3 separate regions of the Homo sapiens genome follow, and all the other regions are linked to region 1. Evidence: promoter capture Hi-C in human tissues and cell types (Jung and others, 2019). All regions are on one chromosome and are shown on one strand. Each heading gives the region's core, a stretch centred on a gene start or on the middle of the fragment in contact. The rest is flanking DNA. Distances are from core to core; before and after follow the strand shown.

Region 1 (3,805 bases), core at 482-2,981:
CCATGTGTGAAATGGAAAGTCCAGATCAAGTCTTGGACACAAGTGAAAATATCTTCACCACAAAACAAAAACAAACAAAAACCCACACACAAATTAGTGCTAATCATTACCCTTTAGCCAAAAGATTATCAGATGAATAGACAATCTCTAAAAGTGGTTTTCAAAAGATAGGATCATATTTAGAGATTATCATTTCTTCCGTGGCTCCTTAAAGAAGCAATTTTCTCTGGATGCATCCCCCACAGAATGGTTTGGGCAACTGCCTTGTGTGGTCAAGTTAGAAGTTCTGGGTTAGTTTCAAATCTGCAATTGATTCTGTGTGTGATCTTGGTCTGACCATATAACCAAACAACCAACCCAAACTTCTGAATCCATGGTAGGAAGGATTTAGATTTCAATTACAAGAAATTCTTCAGGTCCTATTTAATGCATTAAAGTAATCAAATCTTGTAGTAAAAACCTGTATGTTCAAATATCATATAACTCAAAGTAACTCTTCTTGCCCCCTCTGACAGTTTTCAGCATACTAGATGTCTAGAGGGTAATTCAAAATATGTCTCTTCCTGTACTTAATATTTTAAATTACATTGAGTTTCACCAATTTGCAATTCACTATACTGAAATCTTAACTCACTCTCATACTACCAAGAGTTAAAGATATTTCCTTAGAGCTGAATTTATAACCTGAGAAATAGATCAAGTCCTCTGTGATTATCAGGCATCAAATCATGCTATAAGGTATGCATTTCAAACAGTTTATTTTTTATTTAACTCTTTAATTCTTTTTAAAACAGGCTGAACAGAGAGGCTTAACAATCTAGAATGCTATAAATCAAATAAACAAGACTGCCATGAAATGTCACAGTATACTCACAAATCAAAGTAAAAAAACTTTGATTGCTTTTGACAAACTCAAAGGGCAGCTTCTCCCTGCCGGAAGGGATGAAGAAAGCCCAATTCTCTTAAGAACAACAAATGATTGTCTACAGTGACCGATCTGTCTGCATGGGTCAGCACTCCTTTCCGGACCAACAGAGCAAGAAGGAAATCAAGTCCCAGCATAGCAGGAAGCTGGCTGGCCAGGTTCCCCTTTCTGATGGGGTGATGCTACGGCCACTATCCCATCACATCATTGCTGCCTCTGCTGATTTTCTAACAGAGACCGACAGTCTCTCTTGTACCCAAGAGCAATCCAGAAAGAGATTCACAAGCAGCTTAGCGAACTTCTCGAAAGCATTCATTGATTCTAAGAATCTTAGCCAAAAAAAGAACAACAACAAAACAACAACAACAACACTCATTAAGCTTTCACAAAAATCCTTAGAAGAGAATTCTGAGTACCTGGCCCCAGAATGTGGTGATCTGGGCTAGGTCATCTACCTCGGGGTGCGGTAGCTCATCTGGTCTCAGGGATTTTAGGTCTGTAGAAGTGTTATTATCCACAGTCCCAGTTTTAGGATGGCTCCGCTCTCTCACTTTCTCCCTCCTGGAGCCGCTACGGCCAGTCTGCTGGTGGCTTTGCACTATTCTTGCCACCACTTTATTAGTTCTTCCGCTCACCTCCATGTATTCATCTTGACACAGGCAAAAAGGGAGGAAAAACAAAGCCAGCAGTTGCCAATAGATGAGCTGCCTCCAAAGCATGATTCTCAACAGAGCCTCAGAGTCTCCCTGAGAAGACAGCAGAGCTCCAGGAGCGTGGTCTCCTCGGGCAGATGCCAGGACTGGAGCTGAGAGCTGCAGCGGCGGAGTGGTTTTATACTTTGGTGTGTAATAAATAAGGCTGTAGGCATGCCAGAGTGACAGCAGCCCTCCTCCCCAGGCAGAACAGCCCCCATTCATCATTTTCCCACACCACAAGCAAGAACGATTTGTGTGCACAGTTCCCAGTTGGCGAAATTCATAAATGTCACACCTTGGCACGTTTCTGTTGAAGTGTGAAGAAAACATACACAACCAGCTGGGAACAGAGAGCATGTGTCCAGCAGTTTGCTTTTGTGATTAGACATGGAAAGGCTGTGTATTTGCAGTCTAAAAAGCCTTTTGGAAAAATCTACCCTTGTGCTTGCCAGGAAATTCAGGCTTAACTGCATCAGTTTTGTCTGAAATAGCAGTGGGAACCCATTCAGGGCTTTCACGACAGCTCTTGGTTTCTAGCTGTACTGTTAGTATTTCCCCACTTTGGCCCACTTAAGGTAACTCATTTCCCCTTCCGGATACCAGTGGCAGAAGGCAGTTGGTTGCCTACAAAACACTGAGCAGGATTCAGGTGCAGTGTCTCTGGGTTTAGCAAAGGTATTTCGCCACCCTCAGCTTTACTTCTTTTCCCCATGACTTCCCAAAAGCCAAAATTAAATCAAAGTTAACTAAGTCACTTATTGTCAGATGAAGATACAACACCCTGCTTTGTGTTAAGAGAAGGCTGTCTCTGGCTCCTCTTTCTTTTGACATATTCTTGATTAAAATAGAAACGGGGCCGGGCACAGTGGCTCATGCCTGTAATCCCAGCACCTTGAGAGCCCAAGACAGGTAGATCCCTTGAGCCCAGAAATTCGAGGCCAGCCTGGGCAACTTAGTGAGACCCTGTCTCTACTTAAAAAATAAATAAATAACAAAACTGAAGAAGTGGAAAGCACCAAACACGTTATTTCAAACACAGCGTATCCAGATTAAGAGGATTCTCATGTCTTTGCTTTAGTTGCTATACTTTTATTAATTCAGCCAAAAAGAAAATGGACATTCCTAATTGCTTCAGGATAATAAATTAAGAGAATTTAAACAGTTTTGTCATCAAAAATTGCTTCTATTTACATATGATTTTATTTATATTACTCATTCACTCGCTTAAGAAAATGTTACTGGCCTTCTCTCATGAAAACTGGAGAGACCCAGGACCGTAAATAGCATGGGTGGCAAGCGTCTGATGAGAAGGGGGCGAGGAGGCACTGTGGGAAACTGAGGCTTGGAGAAGCTCAGCCTGCTGATGAAGAGTCAGAGCAGCTGGGGAAAGGGGAGAGGAGAGAGAGCTGTTGACAGCTGCCCCCATTGCTCAGCCAAGGGCCTGAGAACCAAGAGCCATCTCTGGAAGTGGCCAGAACTGTCAAAACTAGCCTGGCCCCTCCTGCAGCTACCAGAACAGCCGCTTCCAGAGTCCACACTTATACATGGAAAGGGTTTGGTGCTGGGGACGGAGGGAGAGAGTTACTCTGTGAACTAAAAGCTCTCCAGGCCACAGTTCAGGGGCCTTGGGAGTCATGTTCAGTCCAAGCAGTCAGTTCCCACCTAGTAGGGCATAAAAATTCAGCCATCTCTGTGCTACAAGTCTACCCTTGAGCATCTAAACCTTCCTCACTGGAGGATTCCTTGAGTTCTGTCATGTCCACCATTAAAAGGTAGATGTCCCTGGGAAGGGAAGTGTGTCAAACTGTTATTCTTAGTAACTGAGGATTTTCTTCCCAGACCTGGAGCTGGAGCTGGGGAAAGGATGGCGCCTGTGTTTGGAGGGTGAGCAAGTGGATGGGCTTTTGCTGTGGGAAGGAAAGCCCAGAGCAGTGTCTCAGTGGGGGTGTTCCCTCCTCAGGGAGGCCCAGAGAAAATGTCACAGGGAGACCACAAAGCAAGCAGTGGCTCTGAAATCTAGGTCACCCAATTCACAGGTTTTCCAAGAGCTGTCTCTGGCTCTCACCATCATGCATCCCCCACGAAGTGGGCCATACTGCTAAGTAACTATAAATCAGCCTCTGACTTTCTACCGCATTGAGACTTTCCATTCGTGTTTTCAATCCTGTCATCTATTCTAGTGGTT
Region 2 (3,805 bases), core at 341-2,840, 590 kb before region 1:
CGAACTCCTGGCCTCAAGTGATCCATCTGCCTTGGCCTCCCTAAGTGCTGGGATTACAGGAATGAACCACCATGCCCTGCCCCAGTCAGTTTCTTAAGGATTAGATATTCCCTTGTACTCCTTTCAAATTGTGGTATGTTGATATATATGGAGACATATGTATGGAGACGTTGGTAGCATTATCAACATTGAATAAATGTTAAAATCTGTATTGCAGTAAGTCATTTTATATCTGATAGATTGAAATTCATTTGAAGATAGAAAGTCATGGCAAAATTAAGCAATCTCCTCTTCACTTTTGTATGAAGTGTTAATGTTCATGTAATTTGAAGATGATGAATGCTGTAGATGTTAGTTTGACTGTTTTGTTACCACAGATTCACTGCCTTTTTGAAATGTTCCATAGATTATAGAGTGACAGTAGAAGAAGTCAGCTCTCTGATTGCTGTCTCTTTTTCTTTCTTTGCCAAACCTCTAGAAACCTAAGTGGGTGTTTTATATAGAATATTTTTGTTAATTTTATCTGCTATAGAAAGTAGTAGTGTGTTGTTTTATATAGTTGCTAATTACATACTCCAAGCTGATCATGGCATCTTTGAATTCAGTAAATACTTTCCTTGAAGGGGAGACCTTAAGTCAAAGAAATTTGTGATTGGTTGTGAGTGGACATATAGGCTGACCCGCTGCACAGACCATCACCTGGACATGAATGAAACAAAATAGAAAAGCCAGTTTATTGTTTTTATTTCCAGTATTGTTTATAGCTCTATTTGTAAAATAATTTAGTTAGAAAAGATCCTAAGAAGACATCTTAAAAGAGAAAAGACCACTTGCTGTAAATAGTAGCAAAATGGTAATTGTCGATTCAGCATAAGAATAGGGCATTTAATTCCTTCTTTTACCTTCATTTAGAACCAAATTGAGGTAATGCCGGGTGATTTTGGCAGTGTTTATTTACCACATTGAATCAATAGTCCTGGGTTTCTGTATTGTTTTTATTATTTCTTTCCCATTTCTAAATAGGAAAGCAATATTTACTGATCATTTATTTCCTGATTTGTTTGTTGTCTTGCAGTTGAATCCTTGGCCTGAATATATTTACACACGTCTTGAGATGTATAATATACTAAAAGCAGAACATGATTCCATTCTGGCAGAAAAGGCAGAAAAAGATAGCAAGCCAATTAAAGTCACTTTGCCTGATGGTAAACAGGTTGATGCGGAATCTTGGAAAACTACACCATATCAAATTGCCTGTGGAATTAGGTATAAGCTACACCCATCATGACCTTCCATAGTTTGTGGTCTAACTAAACTTCCTTTTATTATCTTGCCATGTTTTATTCTTATAATATTTTTATGTTACCATTCAGTGTTTTTAATCTGTTTAATTTTGCCTACTTGAGATTTTTTAAAAATCAAAATGATACAGAGCTTTGTAGTCAAAATTCAAAGTTAATTTCTGAAAGAGTTTACTTTGGTCTTATCTTTTGGGGCATTGTATATTTTTAGTCTTACTATGATTATAAATGTTACAAAACCGACTAGACAGTGTTTACCTATTTCGACTTAAATGTCTTGGTTTTGAAGTTAAAAATGAAGCTACATAATCTCACATGGAAAGGTTAAGAAACTTCATATAACACATGAAAAAAATGTACTATTTTTATAAATTCAATGAAAGACTATTCCTAGTCTTAAAACTTTTATTGGGGTGGGAAGAAGTTATTTCAATTAACTGAGAATTAGATGCATATTTTGTAATAGGGGAGAGGCTTTCTTAATCTGATATGATTGGGATCAATAATTGGTCAGTTTATCAAAATAAGAGTTGGTAAAACATATATATGTGTATATATATACGCGTATATATACACGTGTATATATATATATCTTAAACTGGGTATTGGGAAACTCTAGTCATAATCTGTTTGTGTATGTCCTGAAAGCGAAAAATAAAAATGATTCTTTTTTTCTTTCTTTTTTTTTTTTTTTTTTTTTTTTTGAGACAGAGTCTTGCTCTGTTGCCCAGGAGGCTAGAGTGCAGTGGCGCGATCTTGGCTCACTGCAAGCTCCACCTCCCAGGTTCACGCCATTCTCCTGCCTCAGCCTCCCGAGTAGCTGGGACTACAGGTGCCCGCCACCACGCCCGGCTAATTTTTTGTATTTTTAGTAGAGACGGGGTTTCACCGTGCTAGCCAGGATGGTCTCGATCTCCTGACCTTGTGATCCGTCCGCCTCGGCCTCCCAAAGTGCTGGGATTACAGGCGTGACCCACCGCGCCCAGCCAAAAATGATTCTTAAATTTTTAAATAGTTGGAAAAAATAAAACAACTAAGAATATACAACAGAGACCATGTTTGGCCTGCAAAGTGTAAAATATTTGTGTGGCCTTTTACAGAAAAAGCTTGCCAATCTTGGTCTTAAACACTTCAACTTAAAATATGTGAATATGTATGTATTCACTAACTTTATATACATACATAAAACAGTGAATATATATATGTATGGCAAGGTTTGGGGGATAGCGAGTGCTAATTAGAGTTCTTACATTATCTTAACACATACGAGAAGTAGTCTGAGCACAGAATCCTTGCAGATTTTCATGTAGTTGTAGAGTTACACCTAACTTGACAGTGTTTTTGTGTGTGTGACTTGGATTTATCAAGCCTTCTCAAACATTCAACTTGGTTTTCATAGAATCCATAATTCCCTTATTGTGTTATTTTATAATTATATATTTTTGAAGTTTATTTATAAGTGTTATGTATTGAATTGAACCATTTGGAATCACCATATGAATTGTCATGTGGTTGATTATCATCAATTTTGTATTGTTGAACCAAACACGTAAAAGAACAAGCACAAAAACAGTTTGGGGAACCAACGTGGCTGATTCTTGGTAAGCGTATTATACAACTAGTAGAAGCAGAACCAGTTAGGCCTATGAGCCATGAGCATCTACTGTACCACAGACATTAGTTAGTACTTTTTACAAAGTGAATGGAGTGTTTCCATTCATTTGACAAGTGCTTCTACCTACAAGTTCTTCTACCTTACTCCAAAGGAAGTAAAAAGTTGTAATACCATGCAAGTTTCTATGTGAGAGCATAGAGAACTGGATAGACCTTTACGTATCAGTTCAACCTTTCATTTTAGAGATAATTTTGAAGGTCAGGTTGATTAATAGATTCCTCTGTTGTCACACAATGAGATTGTAGCCGTGTCATTAAAATTTAGGCTTCTGTTAGTTTGGGAACTTTTTCCTCTACCTTCTACAATGTTGATCTAGATTACATTGTAATTTATCAAGTCTTCAGTTGAAAAATATTCTTCAAGAACTATAAAATTCTAAGTTGAATTACATAGCTGGGCGTGTTGGCTCACAGCTGTAATCCCAGCACTTTGAGAGGCCAAGGCAGGCAGATCACCTGAGGTCAGGAGTTCAAGACCAGCCTGGCCAACATGGCGAAACCCTGTCTCTACTAAAAATACAAAAATTAGCCAGTCATGGTGGCGCACACCTGTAGTCCCAACTACTTGGAGGCTGAGGTGGGAGGATAGCTTGAACTCGGGAGGTGGAGGTTGCAGTGAGCCAAGATTGAGCCACTGCACTCCAGCCTTGGTGACAGAGCGAGAGTCCGTCTCCAGGGAAAAAAATAAAAGGTTGAATTACATAAAACATTGATGGGCTTTAGCTCTGGAGTTAAGTCACTGATCTGCACTGAGAATACTTTATGAAATTTTTACAAAAGTCCAGAATAACTTTTTGTTCTGTGAAAAATTATAACATTGATAACAGGCT
Region 3 (3,805 bases), core at 586-3,085, 540 kb before region 1:
ACCTCAGCCTCCTGAGTAACTAGGACTACAGGTGTGCACCACCACATCTGGTTAATTTTTAAATTTTTGTAGAGACAGGGTCTTTTTATGTTGCCCAGGTGGTTCTCCAACTCATGGCCTCAAGGGATCTCCCGGCCTCAGCCTCCTAAAGTGCTGGGATTACAGGCATGAGCCACTGTGCTTGGCTCAGTTCTAGTCTTTTAAAGGGTGGGGGCTGGGCAGCAGTGGCTCATGTCTGTAATCCCAGCACTTTGGGAGGCCGAGTTGGGTGGATCACCTGAGGTCAGGAGTTTGAGACCAGCCTGGCCATCATAGTGAAACCCCATCTCTACTAAAAATACAAAAAATTAGCTGGATGTGGTGGTGCATGCCTGTAGTCTCAGCTACTTGGGAGGCTGAGGCAGGAGAATCGCTTGAACCTGGGAGGCAGAGGTTGCAGTGAGCCGAGATTGTGCCACCACACTCCAGCTTGGGTGACAGAGTGAGACTCTGTCTCAAATAAATAAATAAATAAATGGTGGGGAAATGTGGGAAGATAGTAAAATCTGTTCCCAGATTCCTCTGGTGCCTGCTGGTACCTGCTCTGGGCTGATGAGCCAGAGCTGTCTCCAGTAAGGAAGAGTTGATGTCCTGCCATTGGGCAAACAGAGGCTGGGGCAGAGCATTTCCCTAAGTTCATTCAGTGTGTTTAACTTAACAATCCTCAGTATTTTGGGGGAAATAATTTGGCTTCCTTCACATTCACCAGAATTTAAATAGCTCCATGCAACAGATCATGGCGTGCAGGTGCCTGGCTGTGCAATAGGTAGCTAATTCATTCTGGCAGGTGTGTCAGGAAATTACCCCGTTCAGAATCCACTGTTCCACAGGAACATTGCTGGACTTTTTCTACAGCTGAGTGGCAAAATGGATGATAACTGCTCCGAAAATATTCCAGTTGGAAAATAACCTTGAATTATCGATTATTTCATTACTTTCAACAGCTAAGCAGAGGAAAATGACATTTAGTCCAGATTGTCTTAGGGATATGTTATTCATTTACTTTTTGTTGAATTGTAAGATCTGTATATTACATTAATTATAATAAAGCTATATATTTATGTGACATTAATTTAGTCCCCTCCTACTCATTATTAATTTATTTTTTAGACAGTGTGAGGATCAGATTTGCTGTAAAACCATTAAGTTTATTGATTAAAATGACCTACAGCGTGTCCTATATAAGGCACCACATGATGAGTTTATTTTAAACTCATTCTAAAAAATTGATTTCCTTATTTCCCATTCCAAGGGTTATGCAACACATTGTATTACTCTTTTCTAGATTGGCACAGATAGAATTGACATCACTCACATTTACTATATTAGCCTTTTGGGGTAGAGTATACACTTCCTCCTCCTTTTTATGACTTTAGTATTCCATTTCTATCCCAATAAAGGTATTATATATGTATCTTTTGTTGGTATCTATTATTTTGAGAGAATAAGTGTTTAAAAGTGAAACTACTGAGTCAAAGGGCATACACATTTTGAACATTCTTTGATATATAGGGCCCCACTGCTTTTCTGAAATACGGTACTAATTGATAATTCTATCATCACTGTTTGTGAATTCTTATTCTTTGGTATTTTGGCCATTCTAACACAACGTTCCTGTGTTAGAATTTTATAAACATTAGCAAATTTTGTCGATAAAACAGTGTATTGTTTTTAATTTGGATTTTTTAATGTTTATAGGCTAGTTTGAGGCCATAACTACTAGTTCCTGTCCTTTTCTCACGTTAAGAAAAGCATTTTGTCTCATTACTTTATATAAGCTTTTTATATTGTAAAATATTCATTCTTTGTTATGCAACAAAATGACAGATAAAGCCCTAGCCCAAATTTCTAGCCCTAGTCCAATTACACATTGTATTCTCAGATAACAATGCAATTTAGATAGAAAATCAAACAAACAAACAAAAAGCCATATATTTGCAAGTTTGAAACACATTTTTAGGGGCCAGTCATGGTGGCTCACAGCACCCCCTCTCTATAAAAATAAAATATTAGCTGTGCAAGTGCACACTTGTAGTCCCAGCTATTCTGGAGGCTGAAGCAGGAGGATCACTTGAGCCCTAGAGTTTGAGGTAACAGTGAGCTACGGTTGCACCATCGCATTTCAGCCTAGGCAACAGATATCCTGTCTCTAAAAAAAAAAAAAAAAAAAAAAAATTAAAAAACCCATTTTTTATTTTAAAAAAGTTTGATTTTTAATTGACAAATAATAATTGTGTGTATTTATGGTGTACAATCTGATATACATCATAAATATATACTTCTTGGAAGGAAGTATCCACAGTAGGTACCTAAGTAAGGCAAGACAGAGGTCAGGTCCAGGAAGGCCAGTTCTGAGAGTGCAGAGCAGGGAGTCCATGTGGGATGGAGGTTCTGTGGGTCAAGGCAGCAAGTCCACATCAGTGAGGTCAAATCCTGGCACCAGAAATCCAGGACAGTTGAAAGACAAAAAGCTGGGGCCCCAGGCCAACAGGAAACAAGAAACTGGAAACCAGTGCCAGAATGATCAAATCAAGGTAATTAGCACATCCATCACTTCAAGTATTTATCATTTCTTTGTGATGAGTCCTTAAAATCCTCTTTTTGCTATTTGAAATACATAATATATTATAATTAACCATTGGCCTTTCAGCTGCAGGCTTATTTTTATTCTTCATAGTCCCCTATAAACCCCAGCAGTATTTCAGAATGCTATTCTGGATCCACCCCAGATTATTTAAGTCAGGATCTTAAAGCATGGGACCCAGAAATCTGCACTTTTGAAAGGGCCCCAGATGATTCTGGTTTATTGGTAGGATTGAAAACCACTGGGTTACTCTAATTTCTGGAATGATTATTCTCTATCTACCTGTTTCCAATTTTCACTAATCACTTTCTTATTAATTTCCTGTAAGCTGGATGCTGAGTCCTCTGCTTTTCTAAAACCAATAACTTTCTTTGGATCCAATTAAACATGATTCACTCCTGAGAGTAGACGGTAGATCCAGAAGTTGGGTTTTATTCCCCGGACATATTTTTTGTGTTAATTGACAAGTTTCGTATTTGTTTCTTTCAAAGTTTCATGTTTTAAATGTATGCTATTTATTGCTACATTGCAAACTACCCCAAAACTTGGTGGTTGAAAACAGCGAAACCCAGATCCTTGTTAGTGGGATGCTGCCACGTGGGCAGGACTGGGTAGGGCATGCTGGTCTCTGTTCCACATGGTGTTGGCTGGAACGCCTTGGCTGGGGCTAGATATGTCTGACTCACATGTCTGCTGCCTTAGTTGCTTTCTTTTCTCCAACCGTATACTGCATTATTTTTAATACAATAGCTCATGGCCATGGAGGGCAAACTGGAAGCTGCCAGGTTTCTTAAGCCCCGGCCTGCAATCAGCAGGGTGCCACTTTTCCCACATTCTGTAGGTCAGCGCAACCATAGACCAGCCCTGATTCAAAGAGAGAGGAAATAGACTCCACTGTCAATGGAGAGGAGTGACAGGTGTCAATAGGGATGGAAGCTTTCAAGTTGGGGAAATATCACAGGTATGTGGAAGGTGTATAAGCTTGAATCATTAAGTGAATAGATGAATGAATAAAATAAAAGGATGTAAAATATTTATTTTGCCTAAGATTTGATTTCTGATAAAAAATAAGAAAAAAATAGAAAATATTAAAAAAATATACAGACAGGAGACATAGACAATAACGATGTTTCAATCTTTTATATAAGGAAATGTATGTGATGGTATTCAATTTTGCACCAG

The links. The method cuts DNA at HindIII sites, captures the fragments that hold promoters and counts their contacts. A contact is called where the count stands out against the background at its distance.
Region 2: a fragment that was not itself captured here is called in contact with the fragment with the promoter of C1QTNF3 in region 1 in 2 of the 25 tissues and cell types used here (dorsolateral prefrontal cortex and hippocampus).
Region 3: a fragment that was not itself captured here is called in contact with the fragment with the promoter of C1QTNF3 in region 1 in 1 of the 25 tissues and cell types used here (lymphoblastoid cells).

What each region holds. Positions count from the first base shown.
Region 1 is chr5:34,041,482-34,045,286 of GRCh38, forward strand. C1QTNF3 (C1q and TNF related 3) reads right to left here and starts at 1,732. Exons shown (of 6, transcript NM_181435.6): 1 at 1,342-1,732. The coding sequence starts at 1,644. The region is part of intron 1 of C1QTNF3-AMACR (C1QTNF3-AMACR readthrough (NMD candidate)); the gene reads right to left. The HindIII fragment of the contact is 5,092 bases long and covers 1-3,805 here.
Region 2 is chr5:33,447,466-33,451,270 of GRCh38, forward strand. TARS1 (threonyl-tRNA synthetase 1) reads left to right here. Exons shown (of 19, transcript NM_152295.5): 3 at 1,076-1,266. Among named protein-coding and RNA genes, the nearest start is that of TARS1, 8.4 kb to the left of the region's middle. RefSeq lists enhancers at 306-819, 820-1,333. The HindIII fragment of the contact is 7,416 bases long and covers 1-3,805 here.
Region 3 is chr5:33,498,008-33,501,812 of GRCh38, forward strand. No RefSeq gene overlaps it. Among named protein-coding and RNA genes, the nearest start is that of TARS1, 59 kb to the left of the region's middle. The HindIII fragment of the contact is 3,492 bases long and covers 90-3,581 here.